Regions from separate parts of the Homo sapiens genome. Here all the other regions are linked to region 2. Evidence: promoter capture Hi-C in 16 types of primary human blood cells and fetal thymus (Javierre and others, 2016). All regions are on one chromosome and are shown on one strand. Each heading gives the region's core, a stretch centred on a gene start or on the middle of the fragment in contact. The rest is flanking DNA. Distances are from core to core; before and after follow the strand shown.

The links. The method cuts DNA at HindIII sites, captures the fragments that hold promoters and counts their contacts. A CHiCAGO score of 5 or more calls a contact.
Region 1: a contact is called between a fragment that was not itself captured here and the fragment with the promoter of ENTPD3-AS1 in region 2, in 1 of 17 cell types (M0 macrophages). The highest score is 6.5, in M0 macrophages.
Region 3: a fragment that was not itself captured here is called in contact with the fragment with the promoter of ENTPD3-AS1 in region 2 in 2 of 17 cell types (M0 macrophages and monocytes); the score reaches 6.7 in M0 macrophages.
Region 4: a fragment that was not itself captured here is called in contact with the fragment with the promoter of ENTPD3-AS1 in region 2 in 1 of 17 cell types (naive CD4 T cells); the score reaches 5.1 in naive CD4 T cells.
Region 5: a contact is called between a fragment that was not itself captured here and the fragment with the promoter of ENTPD3-AS1 in region 2, in 2 of 17 cell types (M0 macrophages and total B cells). The highest score is 5.6, in M0 macrophages.
Region 6: a fragment that was not itself captured here is called in contact with the fragment with the promoter of ENTPD3-AS1 in region 2 in 3 of 17 cell types (naive B cells, neutrophils and monocytes); the score reaches 8.4 in naive B cells.
Region 7: a fragment that was not itself captured here is called in contact with the fragment with the promoter of ENTPD3-AS1 in region 2 in 1 of 17 cell types (naive CD8 T cells); the score reaches 8.9 in naive CD8 T cells.

The regions. Positions count from the first base shown.
Region 1 is chr3:42,118,371-42,121,891 of GRCh38, forward strand. The region is part of intron 1 of TRAK1 (trafficking kinesin protein 1); the gene reads left to right. Among named protein-coding and RNA genes, the nearest start is that of TRAK1, 29 kb to the left of the region's middle. RefSeq lists an enhancer at 742-831. The HindIII fragment of the contact is 5,871 bases long and covers 1-3,521 here.
Region 2 is chr3:40,452,058-40,455,716 of GRCh38, forward strand. It overlaps ENTPD3-AS1 (ENTPD3, EIF1B and MYRIP antisense RNA 1), which reads right to left and starts at 1,251. Exons shown (of 4, transcript NR_040100.1): 1 at 1,065-1,251. RefSeq lists enhancers at 985-1,054, 1,075-1,144. The HindIII fragment of the contact is 7,917 bases long and covers 57-3,659 here.
Region 3 is chr3:42,172,985-42,176,511 of GRCh38, forward strand. The region is part of intron 2 of TRAK1 (trafficking kinesin protein 1); the gene reads left to right. Among named protein-coding and RNA genes, the nearest start is that of TRAK1, 83 kb to the left of the region's middle. The HindIII fragment of the contact is 1,558 bases long and covers 1,270-2,827 here.
Region 4 is chr3:42,093,519-42,096,969 of GRCh38, forward strand. The region is part of intron 1 of TRAK1 (trafficking kinesin protein 1); the gene reads left to right. Among named protein-coding and RNA genes, the nearest start is that of TRAK1, 3.9 kb to the left of the region's middle. RefSeq lists an enhancer at 1,468-1,767. The HindIII fragment of the contact is 3,051 bases long and covers 492-3,451 here.
Region 5 is chr3:42,196,255-42,199,835 of GRCh38, forward strand. It overlaps TRAK1 (trafficking kinesin protein 1), which reads left to right. Exons shown (of 16, transcript NM_001042646.3): 11 at 2,923-2,999. Among named protein-coding and RNA genes, the nearest start is that of CCK, 68 kb to the right of the region's middle. RefSeq lists an enhancer at 1-13. The HindIII fragment of the contact is 4,138 bases long and covers 1-3,581 here.
Region 6 is chr3:42,056,096-42,059,582 of GRCh38, forward strand. It overlaps a transcript of TRAK1 not described here. Among named protein-coding and RNA genes, the nearest start is that of TRAK1, 34 kb to the right of the region's middle. RefSeq lists an enhancer at 1,428-1,537. The HindIII fragment of the contact is 4,315 bases long and covers 1-3,487 here.
Region 7 is chr3:42,212,576-42,216,211 of GRCh38, forward strand. All of the region lies in intron 14 of TRAK1 (trafficking kinesin protein 1), which reads left to right. Among named protein-coding and RNA genes, the nearest start is that of CCK, 52 kb to the right of the region's middle. RefSeq lists enhancers at 540-1,041, 1,998-2,107. The HindIII fragment of the contact is 3,789 bases long and covers 1-3,401 here.

The sequences.
Region 1 (3,521 bases), core at 500-2,999, 1.7 Mb after region 2:
TGTGAGCCACTGCGCCCCGCTGAGATCTGTATTTACATGAGGTTCTCTGAGTGTTAAATGTTGGACACTAATTTAGAGCTATTGCCTTTGCTGTAAAATGTAAGCATTGCCTCAGGCACCTGGCAGGTTTTGTGAAGCTGGCATGTCACCTGAGAATCAGTGCAAATCCCTAGACGGAGGAGTCTCCTCCTAGCCGCTCTCTGCAGGTGAGGATCTAGCCCCAGTCAGGTGGAGAATGGACACAGCTGCTTCTGCAGCTCTGCACCTTCCAGGTGCCAAGCAGGCTCCAGCACACTTTCTTCACTCCCTGGTGGCCCTAACTGAAGCCCACATCCTGGGTAGGAGGGTCCATTCCAAATCTTACGCCTTGGGAAAAACCTAGGAAGGGTTATACCTCTGAAGAGGTAAAGAGTCCTTTTAGGTTATTTTACTTTCAAAGTGATGTCATAAGAATGGTAGGTATTGGATTGACATCTGCTGAGCAATTGAGGGGACATTTACCATCCCATGGGACTTTCCTCTATGCTGGATAAAGACCTAGGGTGATACTGAGGTGGGTTTGAAAAGACCTTGACACTAGATGGCTCCACCTGCCTCATGTTGCAGGCTGGGCATGTGTCTGTCCTGGACAGGCAGGGGATTCACAGACTAGTCCTGCCACCGGCTGCTGCTCTCTCCTTCCCTTGTTCCATCACTCTTCTCACACTTACTGTTGCCTGGCAAAGTAGTAAGGGCTGGGCTGAAGGTAAGGTGGATAATTCAAAGCCTTTTCTCTTGAGGGGCTCACAATTAGTAGGGAAGAGCCACAGAGAATACACTTCTAACATCGTAGTGAAGTCATTTATGTACTGAGAACTGTGGAAGCCAGAGAAGAGAGGTTAAGGGAGGCTTTGCAATAGAGAGTGACATTTGAATGATATTTTAAGATGGAGTTTGCTAGGCAGTGAAGGGCATTCTAGGGAGCTAAAACAGCTGGTCTAAAAACTCAGATTTGTGAAAAAAATGTGTTTGGAAAATGGTGAGAAGTTGGTATGCCTTAAGTGAAGGGAAATTGGAGAAAATAGCAGAGGCTGGGCTTGATAAGAAAGGCTGTTAGGGTGTTGAGTTAGCTGCTTTAACAGAGACCAAAGTAATTGGAACTGTAGCCTCAATAAGGTAGTTGTTTATTTCTTTTACTTTTAAAAGTTCAAGTGGAAGGAGGTCCAGGGTGTTTCAGGCAGCTGAGGTAGCTCTGGTCATTTCCTGGGCATTGCCTTTACTAATTTAGCTAAGCATGGCTCCAGCACCAGGCCAACTCTGCAACTGGACAGACGGAAAGGGCATGACTTGGAAGTTCTGTTACATCCTGTTAACCAGGCATGTGGATACACCTTACTGCAGGGAAAGCTGGGAAACACAGTTTTTAGCTGGTTGGCCGTGGGCCCAGCCACATCTTGGGGGTTGCATGACCAAAAGGAAGAAGTGGCAATTGCATACTGGGAAACACTCAGTAGCCTCTCCTGTAGAAACGTAGAGGCAGAATGATGAAGCACTTTATAGGGAGCTGGGAGGTTTTTAAAGAGCAATAGTATGATTTAAAAAGCTCTTTGAGAGAATGAGATGGGAGGGTCATTTGAGGTCAGGAGTTCGAGACTAGCCTGGTCACCACAGTGAGATTCCATCTCTATTTAAAACAAAAAATAAAAAAATAAATAAATAAAAAGCTCTTTTCCAGAAATGGCACCAGCCACAATGTGGCCGGCCACCATGGGGCATTACAGTAACTGGGCAAGGAGGCGATGCCGAGGGGTAAGCCTCTCCTTATGGTTGAGCCTGGCCTTTTGATGGTTTGACAGGCTGGGGGTTGGTGGGATTTTGGGCTGTTGTTATTGCATATCTACCTGAAGCCATGGACCTTTGGGCTTTGGGATTGGTCAGGAAATTGATGCCCTTCATTTGTGACTTATTTGAGAACACATTTTGACTTGTTTACATTAGCTTGTTACTAATGTGAATTGTAACTGTGGGGAAATGGTGACCACAGAGAGCATAAAGGGTTCCTTTCCTCCATGGTGGGCCGGCAGTGTCCATTCACAGCAGGAGCTTGAATAAGCTCCTGTCCTGTGCAGGTTCCTGACCCTCCGTGGTTCTGCAGACAAGTTAGTAAATTCTTGCCTCTGCTTCCTGTGCTTTTTTTTGTTTTGTTTTGTTTGAGATGGAGTCTCGCTCTGTCACCAGGCTGGAGTGCAGTGGTGTGATCTCAGCTCACTGCAACCTGACCTCCGCCTCCCAGGTTCAAGTGATTCTCCTGCCTTAGCCTCCCAAGTAGCTGGGTTTACAGGCGCATGCCACCACACCCACCTAATTTTTGTATTTTTAGTACAGACGGGGTTTCAACAAGTTGGCCAGGGTGGTCTCGATCTCTTGACCTCGTGTTCCGCCCACCTCAGCCTCCCAAAGTGCTGGGATTATAGGCGTGAGCCACCGCGCCCGGCTACTGCTTCCTGTGCTTTAAAGGGGAAAATTATTCCAACACCTCCCTAATTTGTGATTATGTTTCATTTTACATGCCTACCACAAGTATGAAGTCTTCCACCTGTTTAGAACAAAAACTTCCTGATGATGACATCCTGGGAATTCCCCAGCATTTCAAGTGCACCCTCCTAGGAGCTGGGTAGCAGGTGTTGGAGGGGAGATCACAGCTTTTAGTGGAACAGCTGAGGCTGCTCCTACCTGATCTGCTGCTTAGTTAGCTGAATCAACTTGACCAACAAGATGTGCCGCAGCCCTCGTGCATCCCAGCTTACTGATCTGTAATAACAGGCAAATCTCTGTGTGCCACATTGCTGGGACGGTGAGACAATGGTCTGGCTTGATGTTTGGCATGGTGAAAGCATTCCTGGGGAATTCTTTTTTTTTTTTTTTTTTGAGACGGAGTCTTGCTGTGTCCCCCAGGCTGGAGTGCAGTGGCGCAGTCTCGGCTCACTGCAAGCTCCGCCTCCGGGGTTCACACCATTCTCCTGCCTCAGCCTCCCTAGTAGCTGGGACTACAGGCGCCCACCACTGCGCCTGGCTAATTTTTTGTATTTTTAGTAGAAACAGGGTTTCACCATGTTAGCCAGGATGGTCTCGATCTCCTGACCTCGTGATCCGCCCGCCTTGGCCTCCCAAAGTGCTGGGATTACAGGCGTGAGCCACTGCGCCTGGCCTCCTGGGGAATTCTTGAAGACTCTTCTGTTACGTTTACCTGATGTCAGGCCTTGGATGTGTCCTCCCCTTGAGGCAAACATGGTGTCTCCTTCCATAGGGGGTCTGTGGGGCTTTTGGCCTTGTGGCCAAGGTTAAGGAGAGCTGCACGGGCCATCTCCATAATCCTATCCCATGTCCTAATTCTTTGGGCCTTTAAAGCATCTGAAAATTTGCTGCTAATGTTTATAAGGCTGGTCATGTCACAGAAAAATCAAATATACAGTTGTTTTTTTTTTAAAAACAGAGTCTCGCTCTGTCGCCCAGGCTGGAGTGCAGTGGCGTGATCTTGGCTT
Region 2 (3,659 bases), core at 1-2,500:
ACCTAAGTCACTTTAACACAGAGATACAGCTTCAATTTACAAGCAGCCAGTTGCAAAGCTTCAGAAAAGGTTTTCAAAAAAACAGGACAATGGGTCCACTCTGCAGTCTAGGCCTGATGTTGACCCTTTTTCACAGTCCTGCTTTGTTTTGAGGCTATTAAAACCCTGCTTCATTTAAGTTCCATCTAAACTTTACACTTCCTCAAAATCCTGTAACTTTATATTTTCCTTCCCCTGGTAAAATGTCCCATGGTGTCTCTGGTGTGCAATCTCCCTCATTAAAAAAGATCGATAGACCTGGTTTTGCTGACTACAGGTTTGTCCCTGGTGGTCTTAGGCTGACTGGGCTTGAACAGTCTTGCTCAGCTTCAGGGTTCCTAAGATTGCAAATTTCAAAAACTGATACAACAAACATTTTTTCACTCCTAAATACAAATGCACCTGTCCACGTTGCCAGGTAGTTATGCACATGGCTACCATGTCAATTTGGTCATAACTAGGGTTAGGTCACTTCTCTGGAAGGTTAGTTATTAAGAACAAGAAAGAAAGTCAGGGTTCTGCACAGCTTTTGGTTTGATTCTTGTACTGACTTATGTTTCTTTTTCTTTGGGGCTACAGGTAAATATTTTGTCTGCTAAACTGACGCCCCCATCGCCAGTGTCTGAACAAACAAAACTGAGACATATCTAGTCAGCTGAAGCTGACAAATACAGGGGCCAATCTGGTTACAGGCAGGCAGTCCTGGCCTCGTGACACCGCAGAGACTGTGGGACAAGTGGACGTGCTCCTACTGTCCCTCGCATCCCCCATCTGGGCCGCGGGACTAGTGCCCTCAGGTCTATGACCCACTGCAAGAACCCAAAGCTCGACGCCCGCCCAGCCCTTCACATCCGTCCCTTGCAACAAGCAAGAGAAGAGGGGCGCGGCTTCAGGGGACGGGCGACGGTTTACAGGACAGCTCGTACACAGTACCAGCTGACATCCCCTAAGCCTGAGTGTCTAGGCCCCTGCCTCCACATTTAAGAGCCGACTGCGCCCCTTGGTGATTGGACGTCCGGACGCACCTTGAGTAGAGGCCAAGCAAACTATCGAGCCCGTCCAAAACGCCATATTTGTAACTGACGTCATCCTCATGTTGCCTTTCCTCTCTGTGATTGAGGAACCAATCAGTTGGGTGTAGCAGACGGGGCGTGGCTCTTCAGGTAGAGGCCGAAGGGGCTGAGAGCGGTCCCAGGCGGCCATCTTGATTCCTGGCATCACTCTCAACGTGCCCTCCCTCTCCGTGATTGGACGAGCAGGGCGGGCCTTCCGGAGGCACACAGCCGACCAACCAGAGATCTGCGCGTGCTCGATCTGGTCATCTGTTTTCTGACATCTGGAGCCACTAGCAGTTATCCTGTTCATTCCTGGGCGCCTGCGACCTTCCGAAGGAAACAAGACTTGCTTGGGGAAAGTTGCCTTGCCAGTATAGTGGAGCTTGGTAGAAACTTAAAAACTGCCTGGGGCTGCCTGGGATGGGGATCTCGAGATGCTTGTGGGGAGCACATTTTAGGAAACAGGGGGCTCAAGCTGCATGAAATGCTGCGGGAAATAGGAATGAGAGACGCAGAATGGTCGGAGAAAAAAGCTAGGAAGGTGTTTGGGAGTAAGATTTTGGAGTGCCTTGAATGCCAGACTAGGGAGTTTGGACTATATCCTGTAAGATAGGGGATAAAAATCAACTTTAAACAGGAGTGATATAACAAGATAATGTACTTTAGAAAATAATTCTGTAACTGTAGGGGGAGTCCCAAAGTGTTTCTCAAATTGTGTTCGGGGAAGTTCAAAGTGTGTTTGAGAGCTTGTTTTTATATGCAGATTCTTGCCCCTCACCAGACCTGCAAATAAAGTTCTCTGGTTGTACAGCCAGGAAACTGCATTAAAAAAAAACTTTTTAGGTTAACATACATTTGGTGAGAAAACGCATAAACCATATGGATAGGGCTCTGAATTTTCACAAGCAAACACTTCAGCCAGGCGGGGTGGCCCGTGCCCCTAATCCCAGCTACTCGGGAGGCTTAGGCAGGAGAATGGCTTGAGGCCAGGAGTACCAGATCAGCCTGGGCAACATAGCAAGACCCGTCTCTAAAAAAATTTAAAACAAAAATAATAACACACTCCCGTAGTTAACACCAGATGAAGAAACAACATGGCCAGCAGCTCAGAAGCTCCCCTTTTCCCCTTTAGCCACTGCTGCCTGCACCAAAGGTAAATATGATCATTACTTATAAGAACTGTAGATTAGTTTTGCCTGTTTTGAATTTGATATAAATAAAAGCATACAGGATATATTGTGTCAGCTTATTTGTTAGTGTTATTTATGAAATTCATCCGCATTGTTCCATGTAGTTGCTGTAGACTCCGTTGCTATAGATTGTTATCACAATTTATCCAGTCTCTTGTTTATGGGCCTTTGGGTAATTTCCAGTTTGGAGATAGTAGCAAAAAAAATGCTAAAATGAACATTCTTCTTCATTCATATCTTTTGCTTTGTAAATTATAAAGCAAGACAACAAGACCTAAAGACTGATTCATTCACTACCTATTTATTGAGCCCCTTACCAGACTAAGGTGAGAAAATAAAACAGAAAAGACAGCAAAGGTCCTGCCCTCATGGAACTTATTCTAACTGGAACGAAACAACACCTACGTGGGCAGCAAAACAAGTCAAACAATTGCAATTGTGATAACTCTGAGGGAAACAAGGTGAGCTAGAAAAAGAAGGGTGGGGACTTAACCTTTTTTTATGTGGTAGCCTGGTTAACTCTCAGAAAAATATCTAGGAAAAAATACAAGAGATAAGTTGGCACTGCTACACGATGAGTATTAACAATGGGTAGACCATTCCTGGCAAGAGAGACACCATGTATAAAGGTCATGGAGGAGGAGAGAGCTTGGCCCATTCAAGACCAGTGTGGCTTCAACACAATGAAGGAGGGATGGCATAAGGTGTATCTGGGTATTAAAGCATATGATACAAGGCCAGAGTAAGAAGTTGAGATTTTATTCCAAATATTATGAAAAGCAATCGAACTGTTAAAAACAGGAAATAATGTGATCTGATTTACTTACTTAAAAGATCCCTCTAACTGCTGAGCAGAGAACAGATTAAAGACAGAATTTAGGAGGCTGCTAGAGCAGTCTCAGGGAAGATATGCTGGCATAGAGCTTAGAGGAAAGGCTTGAAATACATCTGGGAACTGTCATGGCAAAGATCATCACCTTAATCAAGTGATAAAAGGTAACACCTCTCTGCACTGGCCTGGGTAAAAATCTAAAGAATAAAATACCACCACAATATTGGGAACCCATGTGTGGTGGTGTATTCCTGTAGTCCCAACTATTCTGGAGGCTGAAGCAGAACTGCTTGAGCCCATGAGTTCAAGGCTGTAGCAGGCTACAATCAGACCTGTGAATAGCTACTGCACTCCAGCCTGGGCAACACAGCCAGACCCCATCTCTTCGAAAAAATGTATATGTGTGTGGCCAAGCACAGTGGCTCACGTTTGTAATCCTAGCACTTCTGGGAGGCTGAGGCAAGTGAATCACAAGGTCAGGAGTTCAAGACTAGCCTGGCCAAAATGGTGAAACCCTGTCTCTACTTAAAACACAAAAATTAG
Region 3 (3,527 bases), core at 799-3,298, 1.7 Mb after region 2:
AAAATACACTAATTAGCTGGGCATAGTGGCAGGCACCTGTAATCCCAGCTACTTGGGAGGCTGAGGTGGGAGAATCGCTTGAACCAGGGAGGCCGAGGTTGCAGTGAGCCAAGATTGCGCCATGGTACTCCAGCCTGGGCGACAGAGCGAGACTCTGTCTCTAACAAAAGAAAAAAAAATTATCGTAGAGGTTTATGGTGGCTCCTTTATTTTGCTTTTCTTTCTTTTTTGAAACATCTTTTGGGTGGAAGTGGATTTATTTGGTAGCACTCCTTGGGTCAGAAATGGAACTTCTCTTTGAAATACATTCTTATAGAGAGAGAAACTTGACCACGGTTGATTGAAGATTTAGTGCCTAGGAAGTTGGTATTTGAAAAGCATAACCTGTGTTTATGCTGTCTGAAGGCATGGTTTATTATTTTTTCACCTTCATTGGTCTCACTCTTGCTTCCTTATTTCTTGGAACAGGAAATCTAAAACCTAGAAGTTAGTTGGTGGCTGCTCAGAGCCCCTTGGCTTGGATAGAGTCTCCTGAGAAAACCTAAGCCTCTGAACCCAAGGTCAGGGTTCTTTCTTTCCCCTAGGCCCAAATGCTGCTCGCTCTGTTTACACACTTCCTACACATCGATGGTTTGTGCCTTGCTCTCGTGTCCTTTATGGTCTTCCGTTTTAGTACAGGAGCCAGACTGGCCTCGGTGCAGTCTCTGCAATGCAGCCTCATTCTCTGTGACCTCAGTGGGGTCCTTAACATCCAGATTCTTAATGTCTCAGAGCCTCAGTTTTCTTATCTGTGGAGTAGTCATCGCGACTACCCTGCAGGGTTGTTGTGAAGATTAATTGAGAAAGCATGTTAAATCCCTTGACATGATAGGGGCACCATCGGTGTTAGCTGCTACCTCTACCGAGAGTCTGTTATTTTGACATTTGCCACCTGCTAGCTGTGTGACATTGGGTGAGTTATTCAGCGTCTCTGGGCCTTAGTTTTCTGTTGTAAAATGGTGTTAATATAAGTGCTTACCCCTTATAGTATTGCTCTGAAGATTACATAAAATAATCCATATAGAGGGTTATGAATGGTGCCTGGCCATGGTCACTGTGCTTAGTAAAGGTCAGCTCACTGCAACCTCCACCTCCCGGGTCCAAGCAATTCTCCTGCCTCAGCCTCCCAAGTTAGGATTACAGGCATCTGCCACCACGGCTGGCTAATTTTTGTGTTTTTAGTAGAGACAGGTGTGCATTTTATTGGGTTCAATTTTTAAAATATTTTAAAGCTTTATAAAATAGCAACACAAGGGGTCCTTGTAAGTGGTAGATACATGAACCAACACAGGTAATAAAATTACATAGAGCTTAATACACACATGTGCACACAAATAAGTGCAAGTAAAACGGGAACTCTGAGGAAAAGTTATGGATTGTATCAGTGCTGATATCCTGGTTGGGATATTATGATCTTGCAGAATGTTACCATTGGGGGAACTGGATAAAGGGTATACAGGATCCCTCTGTATTATTTCTTCAAGATGGAGTCCTGCCCTGCTGCCCAGGCTGGAGTGCAGTGGCACGACTTCTGCCTCCCGGGTTCAAGTGATTCTCCTGCCTCAGCCTCCCGAGTAGCTGGGACTACAGGTGTGTGCCACCACACCTGGCTAATTTTTGTGTGTATATATATATATACACACAAAATTTTTATATATATGCAAAATTATATATATACAAAAATATATATAAAATTTTATATATATACAAAAATTTTTTTTTTAGTGGAGACAGGGTTTTGCCATGTTGCCCAGGCTAGTCTCGAATTTCTAACCTCAAGTGGTCCATCTGCCTTGGCCTCGCAAAGTGCTGGGATAACAGCCATTAGCCACCTCACCCGGCCCCCTCTGTGTTATTTCTTCTGTCTGCTTGTGGTTATCTACACATGACTGACTATCTGAATAATTACAGTTACCTTAATTCAAAAACTTAGCCTTAAAAATTTGAGTATTATCTCTAAATAATATAGTGTTAGAGAAATAGCAGCTCTGAATCTTCTTGTACAGATAATAGAGCCAGGTTAGTTAAAAGGTAGCCCAGTTTTCTTTTTTTCCAGGAAGGCAGAGGACTCAGTTTTTTGAGGAGAGTGGGCGCCGGTGAGTGGGGATAAGCAGGCCCTCAAGTGACAACACAAATTTAAACACAGAGACCACTTAGTTGCTGTGGTCTGTTACCTGGTGTATAAAGGGTGCTGCAGATGCTTTGGCGTGCTGGCTGGGGGGCCCCAGGGTTTGTATCTGCACGCCTGCAGACCATCACAGCTGTGCGTGAAGAAGACTAACTCGGGTTGGTAGCATAGGAGTCTTCACTTAAGCACTTGTGTGACCTCGAGCTGATGGACTATCTAGAGCAATTTGAGCTGGACTTCATCTACATCAAATTAGATCCTGGTTTAAAGCTACCCTTATAAATCTCCCTTGCTTCTCCCTCCCTGGCAGCTCTGTCTGAGGCAGCATATTTCCCCCCACGCTTGGACAGGAGGGATCTCATGAAAGTGTTGGGTGGAGGGGTCTTGTCTGCTGGCTCTGGTGGCACTGTCTTGGTAGGGTTTCAGATTTAGAACCAGATTTCAGGTCTCCTCCCTAAGTTAGAAAATCATTCCAACAGATCCGATTTCTCTGAGCTAATTTACTAGGATGATCTCTACTTGCATTTAATAAAATATTCAGAGACCTATTGAATTCCAGTTGCTGTTTGCCATTTGTAATGCTGCTGAGTTTGACTTAGTAATACACTTCAATTCCCAAATGTGTCGCATGGGCTGTTACTGAATGTGGGTCATTAGGAAAGCTTTGACTCTTAACAGAATTATTCACTGAAGTCTTAGTTACAAAACATTACTAAGAAGTTATTTATTTAGTCCCAAAGTGACAGGTTTCAAAAAATTTTGCACGTTGGCTGGCCATAAATCCATTTATATTCACTCCTCCCCCAATAGAATAAAACTTACGCTACCTTCTTGGTGTTTGTTGAGCGGCGAATCAGTTCCTTGTCACTGATTTAAAATAAAACAACCCTGATGTATCTTTAGCAGACAAAAGCGTTCTTTTGTTTCACAACCCATTTCTCCAACGGAAGAAGAACAAAGACCCATAGTCCTAAAGTGCTTGTGTGCAGCCTTGTATGACCACAGTAAATTGTACATGTAATGAAATATTACTCTGTGTGTGTGTGTGTGCAATCATAGTAGTCTTTTTAATGTATATTTAAAAAATAACAACCTAGTTTTCATGGTATGGAGCTGGTTGCATAACCTTAGAATGTAGGCCACTTGAGGAGGAGGGGGCTATGCCATTATGAAATTATCAGTTTAAGACTATTGTTTAATAATTATGCCAACAGCTGCTTTCTGAAGGATCCCAGTCTGTTCGTATGGTTGGGTCTGTATGGTTAGTGGAGTCTAAATCCTACAGGCCTTTCTGATCATTCACACATGGGTGGCTGTGCTACTGGCCCCCACCCCACCTACTTCAGTTTGCTGAATATCT
Region 4 (3,451 bases), core at 767-3,266, 1.6 Mb after region 2:
GGGGCCATAGTTCTCAAGTATTTGATATATTTTTATCTTCTCCTAACTGGTTTTAGTTCTGCACTTGAAACAAATTTTTTTCTCTCCTGTCCTCTTTTCTCTCCCCTCTCTTCTCTCTTCTCTTTTTTCTCCCCTTCCCTTCCCTTCCCTCCCCTCCCCTCCCCTCCCCTCCCCTCCCCTCCCCTCCCCTTCCTTTTTTTTTTTACAGAGTCTCACTTCTATCACCCAGGCTGGAGTGCAGTGGCATGATCTTGGCTCACTACAACCTCCACCTCCCAGGTTCAAGCAGTTCTCATCCCTCAACCTCCTGAATAGCTGGGATTACAGGCATGCGCCACCACGCCCAGCTATTTTTTTGTATTTTTAGTAGAGACAGGGTTTTGCCATGTTGCCCAGGCTGATCCCAAACTCCTGAGCTCAGGCAGTCCGCCTGCCTAGGCCTCCCAGAGTACTAGGATTACAGGCGTGAGCCGCCGTGCCTGGCCGAAACAAGCTTTTCATGTATATAATGTATCAATCTTTGTTCACCCCAAACTATTTTTGGAAGCTGGCAAATAATAAATTATAATAGGAAAAAAAAATGGCAGTTTTTGGCAGAGTGGCCAGGTATGGGCCTCGGCACCTTCCTGCTCAGCCAAGGTCTGTTGTAGGAACGTTGACTGGGAGTGACTGAGAGGATTCAGGGTGCACCAATGCCAGGCTCAGGCTGAGCAGCTGGGTTGGTGTGTGAGTCTGGGACTCATGGCCCCAGGGGGAACTTTGGAGTCAGAAACTTCTCTGTTTTCACTGAGCCCTGATCTCTCATAAACACTGAAAAACTTGAGCAAGTCAGGCTGAAACTATCAGGAGCTGAAACTTTATTTTACTTTTAGAGTCAGAGTCTCACTCTGTCACATAGGCTGGAGTGCAGTGGTGCAGTGCAGTCATGGTGTATTGCAATCTTGAACTCCTGGGCTCAAGTGACTCTCCCACGTCCACCTCCCAAGTAGCTGCGACTATGGGCTGGAGCCACCGTGCCTGGCTATTTTTTTTTGGTAGCAGTGGGATCTTGCTGTGTTGACCAGGCTGGTCTTGAACTTCTGGCCTCAAGTGATCCTACCACCTTAGCTTTCCAAAGTGTTGGAATTATAGGTATGAGCCCCAGTGCCCGGCAAAGGTGTAACTTTATAACTAGATCTGGAAGAAATATAATGTTATAAATCCTGTTCTAGGTTTCTCTAGAGAAACAGAGCCAATAGGAGAAACATATATCGAAATGTATTACAAGGAATTGTGTTACTTGATGGTGGAGGCTGACAAGTCCAAGATGTGCAGTTGGCAAGCTGGAGGCCTGGGAGACCCAATGGTATAGTTGCAGTCCAAAGGCTTGACAGGATTGAGGCCCGGGAACTGGTGTTCCAGTCCTGAAGACCCTGGGGGTGGGTCAGCCTGTTTGCTCTATTCAGACCCCAGCTGACTGGATGAGGTCCACTTCACTCACAGTAAGGAGGCATCTGTTTTACTCAGCCTGCTTATTCATGTTCATCTCACCCAGAAACACTACCACAGACACATTCAGAATCATTCTTGACCAAATTTCTGGCCACCCCATGGCCCAGTCAAGGAGACACATATTATACAGTTAGCCTTCACAGATCCTAATGGTGCTGCCATTTACTGAGGAGTAGCTCTGTGCCTGGCAGGTTTCCAAGTGTGGCTCCTGGAACTCATGTTGTCCTCAGCACAGCTCTGAGGTGGGTACTGTTACCACCTTCACGTTTGAGGAGGCACAGAGTAGGCAGCTTAACCTCTTGTATAAAATAGGGATCCTTGAGGTTTAGACCCGGCAGCATTGTTTTCTGACCCTCTTTAAGTTACTGTTCTTCATTTTTTTTCTGTTTTACTAATTTCATTTACTGTTAAATGGGGTTTTAAATTATGAAAATAACACATGCACGTGGTAAAACTTGAAAGTGTACCAAAATATAGTCAGTGCAGAGCAGCTCTCACTCTACCATCAGTGCAGTTTAATGGGTAAAAAAATCATTCCAAGAAGTTTTTATGCACATATTCATTTTCTAAAAAACACAGATGGGACCATATCCTATTCCTTGATCTGCATTGTAAGATGATTAACCATATTACTTAAAATGAATTCACATACTATTACCTTATTCTTTAAAATAGCGACATGATATCCCATTGTTTGGCTTTATCATCGTCATCATCATCATCATCATCATCATCATCAGTCATTTAATTAAACCAGGCTGTGGTCTGAATATTTGTCTCCCCAAAATGAGTATGTTGAAACCTAATCAGCAGTGCAATGGTATCAGGTGGTGGAGCCTCTGGGAGGTGGTTAGGTCACAGGGGCAGAGCCCTGATGAGTGGATTAGTGGCCTTATAAAAGAGGTTTTGGAGAGCTAGCTAGCCTGTTCTACCCTGTGAGGACAGAGTGAGAAGGTGCCATCCGTGAACCAGGAACCAAGCCCTTACCAGACATTTGGTGGTGCCTTTATCTTGGACTTGTCAGTCCCCAAAGCTGGGAGAAATAAATGTTTGTTGTTGACAAGCCACCAGTTTATGGTATTTTGCTCTAGCAGCCTGAACAGGCTAGGAAAACTCAGCAGCTCTCAGTCCTGGAATACCTAATATTTCTTTTTAGAAGAAGCATTTTGTAATTCATTTTTTTGTTACCCTTAAATGAAATTCATAGATAACGAATCCTCTTAAAAACATAATTTTATTTATTTTATTTCTATCTTTTTTTGAGATGGAGTCTTGCTCTGTTGCTCAGGCTGGAGTGTAGTAGTGTGATCTCAGCTCACTGCAACCTCTGCCTCCCGGGTTCAAGTGATTCTCCTGCCTCAGCCTCCTGAGTAGCTGGGACTATAGATGTGTGCCACTACACTCGGCTAGTTTTTTGTGTTTTTAGTAGAGATGGGGATTCGCCATGTTGGCCAGGCTGGTCTCGAACTCGTGTCCTCAAGTGATCTGCCCGCCTCGACCTCCCAAAGTGCTGGGATTACAGGCGTGAGCCACCGCGCATGGCCAAACACATAATTTTAAAAGAATCAGTATAATGCCTTACCGTACTATAAAGGAGAAACTAAAGAAAAATGACATAGCTTGTATTTCAAATGTCGCTGAGGGGACGTGGCCTCATTAGAACACATAATGAGCAATTAGGCCCTGCCCCTGCAGGTAGAATTGCTGTGAAGGGGGCAGCCACAAAGGCAGTGAAGCATGCTGGCTACTCAAGGGTCCAAGACAGAACCACTGCAGCAGCCCCCATTGATGGGTGCTGTAAGTTGTTTTCAGTTCTTGCATTTTAAATGGTGCCTCAAGCACCATTCCTACTCACTCTTAGAAGCATTGGCTTAAACAGTGTGCAACAAGAAAAATGCATACAGTTTAAAGAATACACTTTGAGGTTTTCCACCTTCATCTTATTCCCAGACCTCTGCCT
Region 5 (3,581 bases), core at 287-2,786, 1.7 Mb after region 2:
CCCAGATCTGCCTCTTTTGCTCCTAGCCATTCTAATCGCTGAATAAAACAGTGAGTAGCAGTTTTTGCACAACTATGTTCCCAATTCTCTTGCCCAATGGCAGGAGTTCATCTGGGATCCACAGACGAAATTTGGGGGGGGCCTGTGAAATTAGTTCCTAATTGTACTCAATATTTCCTTCCTGTATGAAGGTCACCAGGTCACAGTGATATTAGCACTGCTTGTGACTTTGTCATCATTAGAAATCACAGGTATTTTTATGGCACATTTCTTTTTCTCTTCTTCTTTTTTTTTTTTTTTTGAGACGGAGTCTTGCTCTGTCATCCAGGCTGGAGTGCAGTGGTGCGATCTTGGCTCACTGCAACCTCCCTCTCCTGAGTTCAAGCGATTCTCCTGCCTCAACCTCCCAAGTAGCTGGGACTACAGGCATGTGCCACCACGCCCGGCTAATTTTTTTTTTTTTTTGTATTTTTAGTAGAGATGGGGTTTCACCATGTTGGCCAAGCTGGTCTCGAATTCCTTACCTCAGGTGATCCACCCGTCTCGGCCTCCCAAAGTGCTAGGATTACAGGCATGAGCCGCCGCGCCTGGCCCTATGGCACATTTCAGTTGTTACAGCTGCCTCACAACACCACAGATGCTGATCTCCACTTCAAAATGACAGCAGTAACCAGTCCTGAACTAATTTCTCTCTCCTTTCTCCTCTCTCTCTCTCTCTCTCTTTCTCTTTCTCTCTCTCTCTCTCTCTCACACACACACACACACACACACACACACACACACACGTTGTTATATTGATACATATCTGCCTTCTTTTATAATCATAATTTTATTTGCCTAAAAATATTATTCCAGGAAGGAGTCCACAGACTTGCCTGGATTGCCAGAGGGGAGAGGGTCATGGCCAAAAACAAGTCACAGAGCCTGCATGTGACTTTTTCTCAGTATGGCTTTGAAATTACAGTCATCCCTGAGTATCTGAGGGGGATTGGTTCCAGGACCCCCTGCAGATACCAAATCCTTCAATGCCTAAGTCTCTGATATAAAAGGGCATAGTGTTTGCTTATAACCTATGCATGCCCTTCCACATACAAAAAGATCATCTCTAGATTGCTGGTAATACCTCATACAATGTAAATGCCATGTAAGGAGTTGTTATACTGTACCGATTTTTAAATTTGTATTATTTTTTGTTTTTTTTCCCCCCAAATTTTCTATCTAAGATTAGTTGAATCTGAAGAAGTGGAACCCACAGATACGGAGGGCTGACTGTAGTAATTTGACACTTCATTTTTCTTAAGGTGTATGAAGGTCCTTTCTTCTCTATTTGTAAATTATGTGGTGAATAACAGTATTAAAAAATAAGCTGGCTTAAAAGATGTCAGACTCACCTAGGGAAGTCCTTACTGGACATAACGTTTAATGGCAATCTGTGGGTAATAATTACAAAATAAAATGCATATTTGTGAACAAGGACTGAAAAAAGCCTGCTAGCCCTTTATTCATCTCACTTCCTGCTGACTCCTGTGGAGTCTCCCCGCTTGGTTCCAGCCTCCAGACCGGAGCATCCGCATGGACCATGAAGCTGCTGAGGTGGATGCCCTGGAGTCCCCAGGCGGTATCTGCTGGGAAGCCACTGGCCACATGTGGCTGTGCAAATTTAAATCAATTAAGTTAAAATATAATTACGAATTCAGGTCCTCAGTCACAAGCCACATTTCTTGTGCTCACTAGCCACCCCTGGCTGGTGGTTTCCACATGTACATATGTCCCAGCACAGAGGATGCGTCCATCATCACAGGTTGTTCTGTTGTTTAACATGAATTTAGCCTTTCCCTTCAGGTTATCCTCCATGGATATCCTCCTCTGGTGCTGAACTGGTGCTTTTCTGCACACACTTGGTCCTGTGGGTATCTACCATGTGTAAAGGATTGTGTGTTAGGCTCCACCTCCTACAGTGCTGAGTGATGGGTGGTACAGGAGAGGGGACATCCATCTGGCAGCCTTTAATGTTGAGTCTCAGCTTGAGGCCTGGCCCATTGGTGAAGTGAGAAGCCATCAGTGACTAGCCTTCCCCTGACCCACAAAGCTGGAGAGAGAAACATGTGAGCTGTTGAGAAGAGTGGCAAAGACTTACTGTGTTTGGTGTCTGCTTCAGAAAAAAATGTGAGATTCCTAGTGGAAACAGGAATCCTACATTTCCTGGGCAGGTTGTTTAAAGGTGGGTGGGCCATGGATAGTTGGCGGTGAGAGGAACTTCCCTTGCAGGAGGCCAGGGAGGATGAGAGCAGGGACCTAGAGATGGCAGTGCGTGTGACTCACGTCACGTCTGTAGAGACCCTCTCACTAGCACAGAACCAGAGTGCCCTTTGGAGGTGGGAAAGGCTTCCCCAGGAGCCGAAGTTGGAGGCCCTTGGTCTATTCTTGGTGTCAGAATCTTAGACACAGAGGGGGTGTGACAGACCCTGTAGACTAGGGGGACAATAGCTTTGTGTGGCTTGTATGGGCTCTGTTGCCATATCTCACTGTAAGCTCAGAGGTATTTGGAAATTCACCTGTCTCCATCATTCTGAACACATCACCCCTCCCTCATAAGTTCTGCATCCCATCTCGTAGCCATGGTTACAGCTCCATGGTTTGGCCAACGGAGCATAGGGTTTGCTTTTAGACACCTAATGGCATATGAGTCAGCAGCTTTACACTCAGTGCCCAGTGGCACTGCCACACTCAGAACCTGCCTGGGAAACTGCTCAGCCAGGGTCTCTGACAACAGAGAGTGCTGTTAAGTTTGTGTTGTGGGAAGACCGTGAGCTTCTGATGCCTTGGTTTACTCTCCATGGCCCACCTGGGTGCATACCTCTTTTAGAGACAGAGCATTTGAATTGGCGCTCACTTGACATTTGTCTTTCTGGCTTTTCCCAGGATTCCTTGGCAGCAGAGATTGAGGGAACGATGCGCAAGGAGCTGCAGTTGGAAGAGGCCGAGTCTCCAGACATCACGTACGGCCACAGTTTTTACAGTTTTGAGATTCCCAGAGACCAACTTGGACCAGTGCAGTGTTCAAAACCTAGCAATGTTGAGGCTCTGGGTACCGACAGTGATTGACTATTGTCCTTCCCAGTCCAGATTAAGGGAAATAATAGAACACAGCTGACAGCATCCCTCAGCTCCTCTTATTATCTTTTGTTAGTGTTAATTTTTATTTATTTATTTTTTAGAGATGGGGTGTCTCACTTTATTGGGCACGCCAGAGTGCAGTGGTGTGATCATAGCTCACTGCAGCCTCGAACTCCTAGGCTCAAGTAATACTGCTGCCTCAGCCTCTTGAGTAGCTAGGACTACAGGCGCATGCCACCATTTCCAGCTAATTTAAAAAAATCTTTTGTAGACATAGGGCTTCACCATGTTGCTCAGGCTGATCTCAAACTCCTGGCTTCAAGTGATCGTCCTGCCTTGGCCTTCCCAAAGTGTTGGGATTACAGGCGTGAGCCACCACTGGCCTGTGAGCCACTGTGCTCCTCTTCTTCTTAGGTTTTAAAGACAAATTGTGAACTTCCAGAAAGTCCTAGAAAAGGAGAGAT
Region 6 (3,487 bases), core at 158-2,657, 1.6 Mb after region 2:
TGGATTATTTCCACTTTTTGGCTATTGTGAATAATGTTGCTGTGAACATCTGTAGACTTTTTTTTATTGTGGACATTTGTTTTCATTTCTTTATGTTGATACCTATGAGAGGAATTGCTAGATCATGTGGTAACTCTGTATTTAACATTTTGATAAATTGCCAGACTGTTTTCCAAAGTGGCTGCGCTATTTTACATTCCCACCAGCAGTGAGTGAGGGTTCTGGTTTGTCCATGTCCTTGCCAATGCTTGTTATTATCTGTCTTTTTGATTATAGAAATCCTTGTGGGTATGAAGTGGTATCTCATTATGGTTTTGATTTGCATTTTCCTGATGGTTAATGATGTTGAGCATTTTTTCATGTGCTTGTTGACTTTTGAAATTATTATTGAAATAATTATTGGATAACAGATGTTAAAAACATTTCAACAGAAGCAGAAATATTTTATATAATTGATTTTAAAATTATATTGAGCAAAGTTATTAGCTGATTATTAAAGAGATTATTTTACCCTGGAGAATTATTAGAAATTTTGAAATTAAAAACATTCTTTTGTTTACCCAGAAATCTAGAAGAAAGGTTAAAATTTCCACTTTTTAATATTGTCCCAAGTGCAACATAAAAGTATGCATTTTTCATATCTTAACCTTTAAATGTATGCCATGTTAGGATACAATATTGAGTGCTTGTATATTTTTGAATTCACAGTCCTTTTTTCTGCCCCGATTGTAATAATAGGCTATTCTACATCCTTCTTAATACCTTTTAGCTCAACATTTCTATTTCCAATATTAGGATTTTAAAAATAAAAATCTTGTGTGAGAGACAAAGTAAAGTACCAAAATTGCCTCAGTTAGAGGAGCCAGTTTTCTGTGGATTTGAACCAACCTGTAACCTGAGCCGTGCACAGCTGCCATGAATAGAACAGGGACCTGGTGAAGGGCACCTTCTGCCACTTTGGCCGATTGAGATCCAGCAACCTCCTGGCTGGCAGTGATCATGAAGATGGGAACTAGGACACTGGTGCATTTTAAGGTGCAGTAATTAAAGGCACTCTAAATTACTCTTTGCTGTTTAGACCACCTGGGCTGTCCAGTGCTACTTTGGATACCAAGGAAAATGGAATATTCTTATGTAAATATGGATGGACCATGAGCTCCTGGAGGGCTGGAATCCAGTTTTGTGCAATTGTTTTCTCCACAAAGACTGACAGTAGGTTCACGGTCCTGCTTCTTGAATGAAGGAAGAAGGGAAGGAATGAAGGGTGAATGATGGGAGTAACAGAAATTGATTGCCAATTCACATCCATCTCTGCCACACTTTCTTCTTTCCTAATAGAATCCAGATTTCATTCCATTCTTAAGCCTCCTTTGCAGCATGCTGGAGTAGGGGTTGAGGAGGCGTCCAGTGGGTATTGATTGGTCCAGGCCAATCACAGTGGCCCCATTCCCTTTGCTGTAGTTGTGACTGGGCCGATTGGGATCAGAACAAGTGGGCTGCAGTTTCCTGGGGAGGTTTTGTTATGTTTGCTGGTGATGCTGTATCTGCTGCTCTCATCTTGTGATCTGAGGAGAACCTGCTGGAAGGCGAGCACTGACCTGCTGTGTGTGGCCAAGCAGAAAGGGAGCAGACGAACTTAGATTCTGGGGTTGGCTCTGTCTCATTTGCATCTTGGGCAGGCCACATGTCTCTCCTCCATCAAGTGTCCTGTAACCTGGAGAACTCACCCTGGTTCACCTGACACGTGGCCCACACCATGTTAATCAGTTTGTGCTTTTATTCTTAAGTATTTGAAGGAACCAGAAAATACAACCAACTGAAAGGCGTTTTCATTTTAAATGCCTGTAAACCTGAACATGTCATTCAGTGAGCTTCCTTGTAAAGCTGAACTCAAATATCATTTCCTCCTTTACTGCTACCCAGGTTTGCCCTTCGCCCCTTGGTTGGGTTATTTTTGCCACCTTTAAGCTCTTCTGGTTTGGCTGCTGCTTCTCTTACTGCTCTGCCACAGTGGGCATTTCATTGGGAAGTGAGACTTGTGGCCGGCTTCTGGGTAAAATACTCCTTGGAACCTCCTCATCTTTAAAATATAGATAATACTCATGTACCTTGGCAGTTGTGGAGATTGACGAAGACAAGGTTTGTTTGTAAGTATGCTTTTGCCTTTAAATTTCATTTTATCATGTTCATCTTTATTATGATAACTGAGGACTGGAGGGAACCTTTATTTTTAAATTTAATTTAATTTATTTATTTTTTGAGACAGAGTCTCACTCTTGTTGCCCAGGCTGGAGTGCAGTGGTGTGATCTCAGCTCACTGCAACCTCTGCCTCCCGGGTTCAAGCAATTCTCCTGCCTCAGCCTCCCCAGTAGCTGGGATTACAGGCGCCCCCGCCACAACGCCCAGCTTATTTTTTAATGTATTTTTGGTAGAGACGAGGTTTCACCATGTTGGCTGGTCTGGTCTTGAACACCTGACCTTGGACGATCTGCCTGCCTCGGCCTCTCAAAGTGCTGGGATTACAGGCATGAGCCACCATGCCTGGCCTGGAGGGAACCTTTAAAGTCAACCTGTCCTACCTCCTGGCTGATGCAGGGATCTCCCTTTAATGTCCATTGTGGGCCTTGCCCATTGTTTGGTGGCCCATTTGAATTGTTGCGCTGAGCTCCCACCCCCACACACAACAGATCGTAAGATACGCCATTGCTTTATGTACCTCTAAGAAAGCAAAAAATGCTACAAAGTAAGCATAGTAAAGGACGATTGGCTATAAGACAAAATTCAATTTTAGAGATATTGAAATGTGAAAAAATGTGTATCTTAAGAGATTTACTCTTTACCATCTGCTCTGTGCTGCAATTTTTTTAAAGATAAAGTGCTAATTTACTGAATTTAAAATAAATCCAGGTGTGTATGCATGCGTGTATATATTTGTATGTATATGTATACACACAAATATACATACGTATGATATAAGTAGGCTTTGGACTTCAGGGAACTTTTTTTTTTTCCTTTTGAGACAGGGTCTTGTTCTGTTGCCCAGGCTGGAGTGCAGTGGTGCGATCATGGCTTGCCGTAGCCTCAACCTCCCAGGCTCAAGTGAATCTCCCCCTCAGCTTCCTGAGTAGCTGGGACTATAGGCATGCACCACTATGTCTGGCTAATTTTAAAAAATTTTTATTAGAGACGAGGCCTCTTTGTGTTGCCCAGGCTGGGACTTCAGGGCCCTGTCAAGTGTGCTTCTGTGTGTATACAGATTTTGAGATTCCCATCCCTGCTCTCCACTCCAGGATAGGACCTGAGTTAACCATATTTTAGAAAGATAATGACTTGTCTTCATCAGTTATCTTTTTGATAGTCTTTATGAATTCTAATAAAATTTTCAAAACAGTGGCTAAAAGAGAACTGTGGCCTGTTTCTCCCTGTGCCTATCAGCAGGCCTCGGGGATTTCCTTTCTTCCTCGTGGACACTTCTGTGCATTTTCC
Region 7 (3,636 bases), core at 257-2,756, 1.8 Mb after region 2:
TTGTATTGTAAATAATTTAGATGATTAAAATGGATTGTTTAAAAAGTTTTAGATTATAGTTTTACTTTATTTCAGTGATATGTTTTATGTTTTAATTTATATAGAAAGTATACTTTATCAGAACTAGTTATCATCTTTTTCTGTCAGTACTCTGTATTTTAGGCATTTGTGTGGGGAAGAGCCTGCATGTGGCAAAGGATTAAGAGTTAAAGTCACACAGTTAAATTGGTAGTTGGCTAGTGGATGGGCAGTTCAGTTGAATTATCTTGAATGCTTTGATCCTTAAAGGTGAGAAAGAAGTAGGATTCAAGCCACATGGATAGAGAAAATTGACAGTCAGTTTATTTTAATGCTTTTACTCATCAAGACTGGTTCATATTGAGGGGAGATATCCTCAAAAACTTACACGAATCATGGCATCTTGACATCTTACCTGGCAGTGGCCCTGCAGTAGAACCATGTCCTAATTGGAGCTGAGATTTTTTTTTTTTTTTTTTTTTTGAGACGGAGTCTTGCTCTGTTGCCTAGGCTGGAGGGCAGTGGTGCAATCTCGGCTCACTGCAACTTCCACCTCCCGGTTCAAGTGCTTTTCCTGCCTCAGCCTCCCAAGTAGCTGGGACTATAGGCACACGTCACCATTCCAGCTAATTTTTTGTATTTTTGTAGAGACAGGCTTTCACCCTGTTAACCAGGCTGGTCTCGAATTCCTGGCTTCAAGTGATCTGACCGCCTCGACCTCCCAAAGTGCTGGGATTCCTGGTGTGAGCCACCACATCTGGCCTAGAGCTGAGATCTTAAAGTCAGAATGGAAGACAAAAAACACACTTGGCTAAAATTGCCCTTAAAAAATTCCCTAAATCTCCAGCAACTGGGCCACCAAGGCGAAAGCCAGGAATCAGCTTCTTTCGTTGCCTCCTTGTTTGATACATAGGCCCAAGGTCAGGAGCAGTGACTGAGTGAGGAAAGGGCAGAGAAGGGCTTGTGGTGAGAAGGAGCCAGGCGGAGTCAGGCCAGCTGGGTGTTCCTGCAGCTTTGCCCGGGCGGGGCAGCTAGAGCAAAGCTCAGCCAGCTTGTATCCTGTCCCCTCTTCAGTACACCACAGACCACAGAACTGGGGTTCAGACAGGCTTGTGAGAAGTTGGTTTGGGGGCTTGATGGGTCTGGAAGGAAAAGTCTGGTATGCTCGATTCACAGACCCTTGGGTGCAGGCAAGTTCCTTCCCATTGTCTACACTGAGAGAGTTGATGTGAGTTCCCATGCTGTTGGGAACACTTCGATTCAGCCTGGTTTTATGGCAGTTATGAGGGAGTTTTGTTGTTATGGACAGAGTGGATAGTTGGCTCACACCCACCTGTATTAGGAGATGCTAAGGAAAGCCCTGTGCTCTGCCGTCAGAATATATATTAAGCCAGAGTAAAACAGGCCAACTGCCACCTGCAAGTGGAAAAATGAATGAAGAATGAAAGAATTGACTCCTTCAAAACAAACAGCATAGAGTCAACCCTGCTTAAAATATCCAGAACAAAGCCCACTTGTTGAGCATTTTCTCTCTGGTATCCTCACCTCTGAACACTACAGAGGGCCCCCTGGTGCTCCTAGAGGCACGTGGGTTGCTGAGGAGGTGTCTGAACCTGACACCCTTCTAATGTGGAGGGCCCTTGAGGGAGCACCCTGTGTTGAGAGGAGGAGCTGTGCAACCACACTGCCTAGTGAAGCACAGGTGAAGTGCTCTCTTGTGCTGGCCTTGAACGCACTAGTGGGGAAAGGTCTTGATGCAGCTCAGCCAGGCCAGCTCCCTTCACCTGTTGGTGTCTGCCACAGAAGGAAGGACAAGAGGACAGAGGGTATAGGGACCAGCTTTGTTGGTGTCTGAAGACTACAAAGGGATTTCTGCATTTGCCCTTTGGACGTTTTAATAGCATTCTAAAAATCCCCCTCTCTCTAGAAGATACCCCAGGGGCACTTGAGAGAATTTCTGACCCTCTCTGCACAATGCTGTGAAATTGTTTATCTCTTAAATCACATACTTTTCAGATGAAACAGGGTAGGCAACTTGGTGTAGTGGGAAGAAGAGTCGACTTTTAATTTTGCAGAAACCAAAAATAAGTTGTGCAGAAACCAGAAAAAGATCTTGTGATGTGTGGTTCGAAATCTCTGTGATAGAAACCTCCCAGGTTCCTGCTGGCCAGATGTCTGATCACCGAGGAGCTCAGGGACCTCTACGGAGCTGCAGGGGCAGTCGAGAGCTCTGTTGAAGAAATGCTTAAGCAGAGAAAAAAATAAATACCAAGCCTCTGTGAAGCCCAGAACTAAGGCCTTTAAAAGTGTTATCTTGTACAACATATTACAGTTTAAAATCACTTTTGTATTTTTTAAAACAAGAAAGTTGCACTGTTGCATCTGAAACTGCTCTTGATTCCCCGACTCCTCACCTCCAGAGAAAACACTTGTTAAAGCCACATGAATCCCTAACATAGTACTTGTATTAATGATGACTCGTAGGGCAAACTATTTATGCAGCTTTTCCCACGTGAACTCATCATAGAACTTTTTTTCCCCCTGAAAATATCATGGGCAGAGTTACATAATGAAGAGACAGGAAAGTCTTTAGAGCATCTTCCATGCCCTGATATTTTAGTCTTTTAGGAAGAGATAAAGCATTGCTTCTTCCCTATCTGTTTAATGGAAAGGGAACTGTTTCTCATGCAGCTGACAGGCAAAGACACATCTTCCTCTCCCCTTTCCACCCCTCAAGCAAAAGGCAACAAAGTCATTAGAAGCTGGGCATTAAACAACTAAAATATACTGATATTCCTAGGGGATAGTCCAAGACACACCCTTAAGCTGGATGGACAATGGCTTTTATTTTCAATAGATTTGTTTTTACTTGGATTGAACAGGCTGGCCTGTGGGTGCCACTGTTGGGGTGTGTGTGTGTGTGTGTGTGTGTACTGGTTGAGGAGTTTATAGAACTTGCAAAGCAGATCCAAGTCATGTGACAGCAGCATCCCACTACATGCTTAAGTCAAGGAAAGAAAGGTCAGGGTCATAGGGTTTATTTTACACAAGTCGGCCACTTCCCAAGAGTGGCAAAAAGAACATGGAAGGCCCTCAGTGCATCCCAAAGGTGGAGTCCCTTTTCCAAGATTTTGAGATGCTTTTGTAAATTTACATTTATAGAAGTTATTTATGTGAGTTTTTAAAATAGCTTGGGTGTGTGGCATGGCCAGTGTTTCTCCGTTCTCAGAGGCTTCCTTGGAAGCAGCTGTATCTGGGTGTATATTGCACCCTCAATTTCCCCATAGCAACATGCCAAGTACGGTTGCATTTTCCAATGTCTCTGGGCTCATGTGAGGGTTCTTTTAAGGACTAGGTTCTATGATGGCCTTTAGAGAGAAGAAAGCTTCTGTTGTCCCCAGCACTTCCCAGGGATGCGGGAAGGAAAACGCCATTAGAAGGGAAGAAAATGCATGAGCAGGTGTGTACAAATTGTATTATGGGCGGCCAGACGGGCAGAGTTCCAATCATCCTGCAAATCCCTGTGGAACCTCTGGGCCCCACCGGAGTGTCCCAGCCTCTTCTGTGTCCCCTTCTCCTCACTGTGAAAGCACTGGGCCATGGGAAGCAGTGGGCTTC